Regions from separate parts of the Homo sapiens genome. Here regions 1, 2 and 4 are each linked to region 3. Evidence: promoter capture Hi-C in human tissues and cell types (Jung and others, 2019). All regions are on one chromosome and are shown on one strand. The core of a region is centred on a gene start or on the middle of the fragment in contact, and the rest is flanking DNA. Distances in the headings are between cores, read along the strand shown. Region 1 has its middle 350 kb from the start of PSMD7-DT. Region 2 has its middle 260 kb from the start of PSMD7-DT. Region 3 holds the start of HP (haptoglobin). Region 4 has its middle 42 kb from the start of ZFHX3-AS3.

The links. Contacts are between HindIII fragments. The study calls those that stand out against the background at their distance.
Region 1: a contact is called between a fragment that was not itself captured here and the fragment with the promoter of HP in region 3, in 1 of the 25 tissues and cell types used here (dorsolateral prefrontal cortex).
Region 2: a contact is called between a fragment that was not itself captured here and the fragment with the promoter of HP in region 3, in 1 of the 25 tissues and cell types used here (dorsolateral prefrontal cortex).
Region 4: a contact is called between a fragment that was not itself captured here and the fragment with the promoter of HP in region 3, in 1 of the 25 tissues and cell types used here (mesenchymal stem cells).

What each region holds. Positions count from the first base shown.
Region 1 is chr16:73,867,320-73,870,219 of GRCh38, reverse strand. It overlaps a transcript of ZFHX3 not described here. Among named protein-coding and RNA genes, the nearest start is that of PSMD7-DT, 350 kb to the left of the region's middle. The HindIII fragment of the contact is 3,836 bases long and covers 1-2,900 here.
Region 2 is chr16:73,954,454-73,957,569 of GRCh38, reverse strand. No RefSeq gene overlaps it. Among named protein-coding and RNA genes, the nearest start is that of PSMD7-DT, 260 kb to the left of the region's middle. The HindIII fragment of the contact is 3,438 bases long and covers 1-3,116 here.
Region 3 is chr16:72,053,215-72,056,009 of GRCh38, reverse strand. It overlaps HP (haptoglobin), which reads right to left and starts at 1,505. Exons shown (of 7, transcript NM_005143.5): 1 at 1,353-1,505. The coding sequence starts at 1,357. The HindIII fragment of the contact is 10,372 bases long and covers 1-2,795 here.
Region 4 is chr16:73,188,949-73,192,078 of GRCh38, reverse strand. It overlaps a transcript of ZFHX3 not described here. Among named protein-coding and RNA genes, the nearest start is that of ZFHX3-AS3, 42 kb to the left of the region's middle. The HindIII fragment of the contact is 4,064 bases long and covers 1-3,130 here.

The sequences.
Region 1 (2,900 bases), core at 28-2,527, 1.8 Mb before region 3:
CACACAATGCAAACAGCAAACCTTGATTGTATGTAAATTGATTATGAGGGACCTATCTTTCTTTATCCCTAAAGATGACATATAACTAGGTTTCTAGTGAGGAAGATGGAAAAGATGAAATTTTGACCTTCCTACGTATACTCTGTATTCAGAAATAGCTCAATAAAGAGTCAAAGGTTTTCTTTTCCAAAGATTCAAGAAGCTTTATTAAACTACTTTATTCCCAGTTAGAAGCTTGACACTGAGAGAAGATACACGAGAATTGGACTGAATGAAATGAATGTTTATTGAGCATCTGCTTTGTTCCAGGCACTGTCCTGGGGCCCCAAGATTCCACATATAAGAGACTTAATCTCTGTCTGTAAAAAACTTGCTAAAGCAGGAGACCGCTACCTCCCTCTAAATAAACAGGAAGCCCGGTTAAACATTATGAAGTTCCTTTTGGTTTCTCTCTAAGTCTTATGTATCATGAATACTGTTACCTCCACAGCTTTATATTGGGGTAGTTGGCTTCAGTAGGTCACATACCAGAACTTATAGATAGAAACAAGTTAAAAGCTGCCTAGTTTTTATTTTCTGTCCCAGTATATATGTAAGCGCCTATTTCTTTCCCATGATAATCCTTAAATACAGTCATGCAAATACACAAATAAGTTATGTATGTATATCCTGCGTTTTCTAAAGCATTTCTCCAGTTATCTTTTGCATGGGCAATCCCTTTGTAGTAGAGTGTATTTTATCTATGGTGCATAAACAGTTAGCCTTTTGCCTGTGTAACTTTTGCTTGAAGACAGTTCTCTGCAGTTGCTTAGCGTTTGTGGTATTGACATAATTCATTCTCAGCTGATAAGTTTTAGCCCTTTTCCTTCATCAAATGGCATCTAAAATTTAGCTAAACATTCCCTCTGTGTTTACTCTTCAAGTTGATTTGGGTGGTCGGGGCTGTTTGCTTATTCATGAGTCATATTTAAAATGCTGTCTTTTCTAAAACACCCTGTAGGTTGCTCTACTATGAATTTGCAGCTCTGCGACCAACTGTGTTTCAAAAGTTGTACAATTTATGTGTGCCTTGACCAGGATAAGGTTTTTAAAAGAGTGTTGTGAACATGACTAGCTACTGGGGAGGTTAATGTGACATATTCTTAAAGAATAGTGACCTGGACAAATCCCGCCAGAGCACTCACTGGACCTTTCCTCCTAGTTTAAATTGATCAGGACAACATTGACCATTTTTGAAGGGGACAAGTTCCAAGGCAAGGAAATGGTGTAAAGAAGATTATGAAATCATGAGAAAGAATGAAAATGCTATTTTAAAAGCAGGTCAATAGCTGCTTTAAAGCCTTTAGATTATAAATTGATCATGCAGAGTATTGACATAAAAATATGGAGCTTGGCAATATGGCAGGACAAGAAGGAAAAGCTGCTCATTAAAAAAAGAAAGAAAGAAAGAAAGAAAGAAACCCTTCAGTGTACACTTAGTAATTTTGCACTGGGATAGCCTTTACATTTAAGTGAAAAAATTTCAGTTAATATGCTTAGGTTTTTTACAGTGTCTAAGGAGTTGTCCTTAAGGGGAAGTAAGTTTTGCGTTCACATGGTAAAATGCACAGCATACAACTTTCAGAGGGGGACAGAGGGAAGCTGTGGGAATGCCACTCAGCAACTGTTACATTGTTTAAATCTTTTTTGTTTGTTTGAGATGGAATCCTGCTCTGTTGCCCAGGCTGGAGTGCAGTGGCGTGATCTCCGCTCACTGCAACCTCTGCCTCCCAGGTTCAAGCAATTCACCTGTCTCGGCCTCCCGAGTAGCTGGGATTACAGGCACATGCCACCAGGCCCGGCTAATTTTTTTGTATTTTTGGTAGAGACAGGGTTTTGCCATGTTGGCCAGGCTGGTCTTGAACTCCTGACCTCAGGTGATCGCCTGCCTTGGCCTCCCAAACTGCTGGGATTACAGGCGTGAGCCACCCCACTTGGCCGCATTGTTGAACCTTGACTTCAGAGGGTGATGTGGACACTGTAGATTTCACCATCAGGTTTTCTATTGTCTGTATTCGTTATGGCTCTTTGTTACACATGCCGAAATGAACTCTGGGCTATTTAACGAACGGGGATTTATTGGGAGGAAAAGAAGAACAAAAAGCATCAACCAGAGACAAGAAGACCAGGTTTAGGGAGGGGCAGGAGAAGGGAGCTCCGAGGGCTGGAGGTATGAAGAAGGAAGCCTGGCACCCAGCGCTAGGGAGAATGGCCTGGTTGGCCGGCCCTCATTGCTGCTCTGATGAAAGACTCACCATGTTCTCACTGTTCTTGTGTTCAAGATGCAAAGTCCTTTGAGAGGACATCACCTTGGTCAAGCTGAGGCCACAGGCCCACCTCTGGGAAGTATCAGAACGCTGCCAATTCTCAAATGACAGTGAGGCACCTGAACCCACCTTCTCAGCAAGCCTAACCTAATGGAGGGGATACAATTATCTACAGATATCAGAGTGCATTTGGGAGGGGGAATGGGTACATCAGATGCCCAGAAAAACGATAGGTGTCCACTATACCTTCTTACTAAACATACTTATTAACTATCACAACTGTAAAGTGTTAAGTACCATGAGGATTAGTATAAACGAGAAAAGAACACTGGTCTGTAAGCCTGTTATTGTCAGTGGTCAAACTAAGAAGCACTAAGCCTAAAATATCGGGGAGAAACCCCACCTTGGCTTTGTCTGAGATTGTGATTGACTCCAAGTGAAGGTCACCTCCGTGGTCCTTTTGTGGTTCCCGTGATGCTGGGGAGCATCGGCTTTGCAAGTGGTGAGCAATCCACCTTACTAAGCTACGTGATGTCTAGGTGCATGGGTGAGTGAAGCAGAACCCAGCTCAGGATCTGGCTGTACCCCACTTAC
Region 2 (3,116 bases), core at 233-2,732, 1.9 Mb before region 3:
TAAAAATCAACGAATTAGTTAGAAATCAAGTTAAAGTAATAACTTTTGATTTATCTGTCAAATATATTTTTCATGGGACTTAATCACCATTGTTTTTAAACAGAAACATTAAAATACAAAATGAGGCTTGTTTTTCATTTTTTAAAAAAGGAATCAGTAACACTTGCAATGTGTAAACATTGTTCTCTGGTAAATTATAATCAGATTGCTGTTGGATTACATGTACATTGTGCTAATGCTCAAAGATTTTTTTCTAGTGATGTCATTACAGGGTATGAGTAGACAGGATCTGTCACTATTAAAAGAGACTGTGCTAACAATTCGCTGCAGAGCAAGGGTTACCCCAAGTAACAAGGGGTAACTTGATTGGAGTAGGATTGGTTAGAATTTGTAAAGACGCACTTCTTTGTATTGAGACGAACTTTTATATGTTATATCCTAACTCCTTCCAGGTCAAGAGTCATTAAACACAGAGCATTTTATTCATTTAAAGAGTATCTTCAGTGCCGCCAAATACAGCTCTGTGTACCATTGACTTTACAATAGGATCAAATGATAGAAAAGTTGAGCCTCGCAGAAGAAAGTTTTTCTCTTTGTGCATGCCTCTGTTATCATTGTAAAGATAAAATAAGAAGTGAATGGTCACGCAAACGGGTTTTAAAGCAGATGCTTTTTATTTCATACTCTTTCTTCCTGTTTTTTACTCCACTATGGTGAATGCCTTTGGACTGGTTTTCATTGAAAGAGGACAGGAGGCAGCTGTGATTCTGATGTGTCCACTAGTGGGCACTGCAGTGCTTCTAACGTTCTGTATATTTTAAAATCTGGGCACAGGATAAAAAAATCGTATAGTGAATGGTGAGTTTCCGCCCCTTCAGAGCTTCTGTCCTGTCAAAAAGACACCAAAAATACACTTGGAAGATTATATCTACTTAAATTATTTACTAAAATTTTAGAACAAAATAGCATGCTTGAGATTGTGCCTCAGTTTTTTGCTGGCATTCATTTATATTTGTGAATTGTCACATTTATTCTTGTTTGACAGGCATACACTTTGAAGTCCACATTATGCAAAAAAGGAAAGGTACGTAATGCCAGAGTCCAAATTAACAATATTTATTAGGAGAAAATCCTGCCTTTTCCTATTAAAGAAAAACATTTAACAGGGTTGGTTTATGTAATTTTGAGCAAGAAGCAGTGCAGTTGTGGCTAAGATGTCTATTTGATATTTAGGGAAGAATTTGATGCTTTAATAAGGGAATCCTCCGTCTCCCTCATCCATCATCCACCATCCTCATCCATCCAAACACCACTGTAAATTTGTCAGAGCCTTTTCCATATTCAGTACTTGTATAAATAATGGCTGCTGTGCTTTGAAAAAAGGGAAATGTACGTTTTCCAGCTATGTTATATATCTGATCACAGTCATGGAGACATCTCATAGTTTTTGTTTTGCATTGCTCGGCCTCGGTGCATATAATTTAAGCCCCAGAGCCAGAGGACATTTTTGTGTGTCGACTCTTATTGTGGTTAGTACTTGCCAAAATGAAATTGGTTTCTTTTTTTGCGGGGAGGGTGGGTGCGGCGGTGCAGAGGGGAGCGTTCCTACAGCAGAGGAAACACAGCTCCTGCTCCATTACTACGCTTTTATCATTGCCCATCGCTTCTCCTTCTCTCCTTTGCTATCTTAGGGATTATGCGGGTTCTCTGCAATATTCTGAAATTAATCAAAGCAAGCAAAACCCCATGCCTTATTATCCATCACGGGAAGAGAGTGGTTTCCACAATCCAGACGGCTTTGTGATGTTGTCCAGTTGTGTAACTAGAATTTTATTATCTTTTAAAAGAAGCTTCTGGTTTTTATACAATGAAATCTTTTCATGTTTAACTTGTACGAGCGATGGATCGCTCCATGTGAGTATGACAAAGGATATGAATTTAACCAATAGGCTGTTTCTCTTATTTAAATAAGAAACTGATCTGTGAACAATGTCTATTTCTTTCTTTGATTTTTAGCATAGCAGAACAGCTGTATGTCCCTAATGTAGTTTGGGTCATAAAAGCTTTCTATGCAATGAGATAGGAACAAACTTACAGGATGCTTATCTGGACCTTGTGTTCTATCTCATCTTTTTATAATCATGCTCTACAAATTATTGTTTCCCACTAAATTGGTGGCCATTGTACAGATTGCAGACACTTAGTTTGATTGAAAGTAATAAAAGGAGATTATCCACTGAGTTGGTTGAGTGAAGGTTCTGATATGACCCACTGCCTAGAGTGAAAAGAATTAATCTTATAAACCCGACTCACTTCTGCCATGCTTTGAAAAACCGCCAGGAATGCATTAGACCCTTTTTGTCTTTAGTCCACTGAAAGCTAAAGGTGGGTGGGGCAGACCTGATGTAGAAACCAAATAGGCCATGGCCTGAGTGTTATGCTTTGAGTGGCATCTTGAACTGTGGTGGGGTCTTTTTTTCTTGCTCCCTGAATGATGCATTTCTATCACGACAATCTTGGGGGAGAAGGAGTGTAGTTTTTATTTAGTAGGTGTATATATATTATTCTTTGTGCCAGGCACTGTTTTATATTCTAGGTTTAGAATCAAAACTTATTTTTGTATGTTATCATGAAATAGAATATTATTATGCCAACTTGAAGAGTGTGGAAACAGGTATAAGGAAGTATAGTGCAGGGTCCTACAGCAAATAGGTAGATGACCTGAGATTCAAATCCAAGCTATCCCCACACCCCCATCAAAGCACTTTCTTGTAAATATCATATTCTCCTGCCTACTCTAAGAGAGCAAGGAGGAAACGTTATCTCCAGGAGACCAGGGTGAGATTATGCAGCATGCCCAACTCCAGGCTGGGACATGGAGGCTCTCAGGGGGAAGAAAATGAATGAATGAGCTCCTGATGAAGGGAGAACCTTCTGTCCTTTTAAGGAAATAGCATTGTGGGCTTAGAAGACAAGCTTTGGAGCCAGTCGAACTTGAAAGCATAGGCATCCTGACTCTCCCCTTAATTGATTTTGTGACTGAAAGCAACATTACTAACCTCTTTGAGTCTCTGTTGCTGTCTCCTTAATAAGCCTCTCAGGTTGTTGGGAACCTG
Region 3 (2,795 bases), core at 256-2,755:
TATGGAAGTGCTAGGACCAAGAAATTGCCCCCACACCTGCCCATACACACTTTAGCAGCTTCTGAGCATACCAAGCTTCCAGCAAGCCCTGTCCTGCTGGGAATTCTGCAGAAGCTTCAGAGAGGGATAGAAAGGCACATAGGTGGAGGGGTGGGCTCAGTTTCTGGCTGCATTCAGGAAAGTACATTGGCAATAATACAGGAGCCCTCCAGGAAAGAGAAACCTCCCTCAGACACCGCAAAGATAGTGGTAATAAAATGTAGATAACTCAGAGATGGGAACTTTGGGCTTACTGTGCTATTCCTCTACTTCTTGATATTTTCCGTAATAAAAGGTTCCTTAAATATATAATTTTAAACACGTGGGTATTTCTAGTATTTTATAATAATTCACCTTTAGGAAATGGTATCTGAAACCCCAAAATGCCAGAAGGTTACCTGGAAGAGAACTGGTGTCCAAAAGCAGGACGGTGGCCATGGGCATTGACCCACAGGTGCCGTCTGCCAGTTCACCATCTCACTAACAAATGCCAACCATTCGGGCACTACTTGCTTCTATTAAAATAGTTTCTAGGCCAGACACGGTGGCTCATGCCTGTAATCCCAGCACTTTGGGAGGCCAAGGCAGGCAGATCACGAGGTCAAGAGATCGAGGTCATCCTGGCCAACATGGTGAAAGCCCGTCTCTACTAAAAATACAAAAATTAGGTGGGCATAGTGGCGCACGCCTGTAGTCCCAGCTACCTGGGAGGCTGAGGCAGGAGAATCACTTGAACCTGGGAGGTGGAGGTTGCAGTGAGCCGAGATCATGCCACTGCACTGCAGCCTGGTGACAAAGCGAGACTCCATCTCAAAAAAAAAAAAAGTTTCTAGTCTTATTATTTCAACATTTCAAAAAGTGTTTATTTTTATAAGATCTAAGTGCCTTAATTAGATGTATCCCAGGTATTAGTGTGTATCCCAGGTACTAGTCAATTAATTGTGTCATTCAAATGTGTTACTATTAGTCTTCCTTATTGTACATTTTTAAAGAGGAAAATATCTGCTAATAAATATACTCAGGATGCCAGGAAGCCTACCACGGGAGCTGATGACATACCCTATAAAGTCAAAAATGTAACCTGAAGGAAAAAGACACTCCTGAGAGTAAATCTTATCTCCTGGGAAAGACAGCAGCACTGTCTTCTATGGATGCAGAAAAGGAGAAGATTTAACACACTAAGCCCTTTGGTTCACTATAATTTAGCCCATTTGCCCGTTTCTTTGTTCTATTTCTGCATCTCTACCGATGTATGCAAAAAAGACTGAAATAAAGAACCAGAGGAAAGGCAGGAGGGAAAGCTGTGGACCCACCTCATCTTGGTTGGTCTTGCCTCTGGAAGAGCAGTGCTGTGGGGCATCTGCTGGTCTTTTTATGCTGCCACTAGCTCACTTCTCCCCCTTCTCCATTTCGTAATTCCTGTGTCTACAAACTTTGGCCCTGGTAAGGTCACTATCTTTTCCAGTAACAAAACCACAAACAATACCCCTGTTAAGAGTTGAGCTCTTGCTTCACACTTGATTTTCTTGTGATGTTCTATTACAAATCCCAAGAAACCTGGCAACTCTATGACCCACAAACCTGCCAAAGTATTTCCTGAAATCAGCAACTGGGCAGGACAGGGCGGCGGCAGGAACCATCAATCTGTCTCTTTATCTTGGAGGATTTTCACACTGCAGAAAGGCTCATTTTGAGTTTTTTCAAACCCATTGTAGACATTTCTGCAGCCTAGCTTAGGTGGGGCTCTAAAGAAAGTACTTCCTTTTCACAGTAATTTTCTCCACCTTGTGTGTGGCCATCTCCCTATTGCTTAAAAGCTCTCCAGCCTGAAATCAGTAAATGTGTTTATTGTGTCTTCTCTGATTGCTCTTTGCAAGAAATCACACAACTAGTTAAAGCTATAGTGTAGACTGACACAGACTATACTCAATGGCAGTGGTTCTCATGGTTTTATAGTCTGGTGATTAGCCTAAATAGGCAGATGAGAAAAATCAATATGTCTCAGTCAAATGTCTGCACCTGTGTGTATCCCAGGTACTAGTCAACTGAAACTTAGTAGCAACTCAATACAAGGTTGATTTATTCATTAAAAAGGGTTAGTTGTTCTTAAATTAGAGTGTACAAAAGAATTACTTTTGGATAATCATGGTGACACTGATATAATAGCAAAGTAACTAGAAACAAGACAAATGCCCATCAACAGGAGGAAGGGTCAATACTGCATTGTATGTGGATATAATGGAATATTATACAGCATAAAATGAATAAACTCTGCAAGAACATGGATCATCTTATAAACATAATTTTTGAAAGAAAACCGCAAGTTTCAGAAGATTACCTTCAGTATGATGGCAGTCTTCTAGAGATCAAAACCAAGTAAAACTTGGCAATGGATTCTTAGATAATGACACCAAAATCACCAGCAATCAAAGAAAAATTAGATAAATTGGGCTTCATCGGAATGAACATTTGTGTATCAAAAGACAGTATTAATAAAATGAAGACAGGCCAGGCGTGGTGGCTCACGCCTGTAATCCCAGCACTTCGGGAGGCTGAGGTGGGCGGATCATGAGGTCAGGAGTTTGAGACCAGCCTGACCAATGTGGTGAAATTCCATCTCTACTAAAAATACAAAAATTAGCCAGGCATGGTGGCGCATGCTTTAATCCCAGCTACTCGGAGGCTGAGGCAGGAGAATTGCTTGAACCTGGGAGGCAGAGGTTGCAGTGAGCCTAGATCGCACCACTGCACTCCAG
Region 4 (3,130 bases), core at 96-2,595, 1.1 Mb before region 3:
GAATAAGAAGAAAAGCAACCTGAATAGTTTTGCGTGAACCCCCCACCACACAGCCAAGTAGGGCGACTGAGCTGCTGCCAGCAGCACTTCTAACGGGGGAGGCCCAGGGTGCTGCATGTTTGATGTGTTTGGTGGGTCAGATTCCTCTTTGTGGAACCTTCCCTCTGCTCCCAACATATGTCCACTAAAGCGTGTTTGCACAGCATGAGGAGGCCTGGCCCCACCGCGGCTACAAGCCAGAGAGGCCAGCTTTTCTCCTTCCCCTCTTTTAAGAGATTCCCAGGGCAGCCCAGTGCAGGTACCTGACCCCAGACCACAGGGAATTCAGGGTTGTCTTCCCGCAGAAAAAAAAAAGAAATACAGCTCTGTATTGTCTCTGAAAGAGCCGTGGGTGAGAGGGGACCAGAGAGAGATCAGACTTACTGCCACTGTAAAGAAAAGGTGAGAATCTGGGGGGAAAAATCGAGTAGGATGGAGGTGACCAAACGGGAGGGGTTTGGTTTGGTTTTTTGTTTTTCTGCAGCATTTCCTCTTTTGGAGATCTAAAATCTGCAAGCGTTACGTCAAAGCTTTCTCCAAATGACTTGATGAGGGTTTTTCTGTTGTTGGGTTGTTGTACCCCCGGGACTCATTGGGATGGCAGGATAAAAATTAATTAGAGGCAGTTTGGAAGGGGCTTTGCAAGACAGCCTGAGGCTACGCTTCAGTCTGGTTGTTAGAAGCAATATCATCACCGCCTCCTTGCCCAGCGAACAGACCTGTGCTGGGGCGGCCGGGGGGAGCCACGGAACGTTCAACACAGACATCAGAGCCAAGACTTCCTCCCAGAGAGATTACTTACCACAAACCAGTGGATCTACCTGCTGACAACCTCAGAAATATGTCTTGTTTCATTTTCAGATTTTTAAGAGGGGTTGCATAGAAAGCCCACAGAATCCTGATGAAACAGCTCCTGCAGGAGGGGCTCTGCCTCTCCCACGCCTCTGAATATGACATCAGGCTGGGCAGAGCCACCACACAGCCACCAGGAAAGCAGGATCCTTTTCAGCCATGGATTTGGTCCCATTTTTAGGGGGTAGCAAACTAAAAAGGGTTTTTAGTAAGCCAACACGTTTCCCCTAACCAATGATTATTTCAAATTCCGGCAATTTACAAAAAAAAAAAAATCCAGTCCCTCTTCACCCTGGTCTCTATCCTTCTCCCTTTTCTTCCTTCGCCCTGTAGTCCCTCATGTCCCCACTCTGCTCTCCCCCACACATAATCCTCCTCTACCTGAGACACTGGTTCGGTGAGTGACCTTGGAGTCTGATTAATTGGAAACTGGCTCCTTAAATCCGGATAAAACGGTTCAAAGCATGATATCAGTGCTGGCATTTCATCAGCCACAACAAGTAGCTTTTCCAGCTGTGTATCTCACCCTGGAAATGGAGACAGAAAAGTGAACAGATGCCTGGGTCCCCTTCTTACGCACACCTTCACTGTCATGAAAGATCCTCTTCACTTATGTAATAGAGTGTGTCTGCAGGCCAGTGTAAAAATGTAAGCTAGTTTGTCCTTATAACATTTTCTATGATGCAAGCAATCATTAAGTTCCCTGTTTTATGGCTGGAAAAACTGAAATTGTTCTTCTTTCCCATGTCCAGAAAAAGGCAATCTATGTGTGAGCTCAAAGAAAACTTGGAAACTCCTAGTGCCTGTCCCCATTCTCTCTAAACTTAGCTGTGTCTTTTTTATTCCTATAATTGTTTCCTTGCATCATAGTGGGGATGGGGGTGGGCGAAGCCAATGGGAACAATTACCAAAGGAAAAACAGCAACTTCTTCCCCCACACAGCCACTTCCAAAATGAATTCACCAGCTGTGTAATACGAAGTCACACCATTACACATGTCAGCAGCTTCCTGCTTCCAAAGGTGCGTTCCTTAAGGTGAGTCTTAGTCCCTTGGCCTCAGATAAGGAGTGGTCAAGATGCTCACTCTATCTTATGAAGAAACAAAAAGACTTCTTCCTAGGGAGGCTCACCACTGACGCTGAGCACTTGGCTTCTTTCAAGAGTGGATGTGAGATGTTGGTGAGCCCATAACATCACCTCCATTTCTCAATTGTGTGTCTTTAGACTTTTAGTTTTTAATTTTTTTTTTAATTTTTTTAGAGATGAGGGTCTCCCTATGTTGCCCAGGCTGGTCTTGAACTCCTGGGCTCAGGTGACCCTCCTGCCTCAGCCTCCTAAAGCACTAGGATTACAGGCATGAGCCACCATGCCTGCCCAGTCCTTACACTTTCACCATACAGACAAGGAGGAGTTCCCGGTACACGGAGATGCTCATACCTTGTTGGTGAGCTCAGGGGGAATGCCCAAGACAACTCCTTCCCCATTTGCTCCCTACCAAAGAGAGGTGAAAGGAGAGATGCCAGGGCTGCCCTCAGAAACCACATCCAGCCTAAAGTGGGCATCAAGGAACATGGCTGCAAAAAGCAAAATCCTCTCCACTCACTGCTTCCAAAACTAACCAGTCTGCCTCAGAATCAATCTTCTGCTTTATAAGCAGCCGGCATATTTAGAACCATGGAAATTAAAGACGGAAAAGACCTATTAAGTCTTCTAGATCATTCCCTAGGGTCCAGTGCCGGCTCGTTCCCTGTAGTACATTTGTTATTGCTATGTCAGGCCTAATTTCAAGTGTCTCAAGCAATAAACGTAAAGGAAGCAATGACAGTGGCATCTGCCGACCCCAGTGAACAATGATCACGTGATTAGAATTCTGCTAGCTGCTCACTGGCCTTTGGCATGCCCGGAAAGGGTTTGGAATCCCCGGGGTGTGGCCCAGCAGCTTCTAGAAGGTAGAGACGTTGGAGAATGTCTTCACCCTTTTATGTTAAGCAGGATAACATACTGCCTCTTAGAAATACCCAGATGTGGGCGGGCGCGGTGGCTCATGCCTGTAATCCCAGCACTTTGGGAGGCTGAACTGGGTGGATCACAAGGTCAAGAGATCGAGACCAGCCTGGCCAATATGGTGAAATCCTGTCTTTACTAAAAATACAAAAAGTAGCCAGGCGTGGTAGCTTGCGCCTGTAATCCCAGCTACTTGGGAGGCTGAGGCAGGAGAATCGCTTGAACCCAGGAGGCG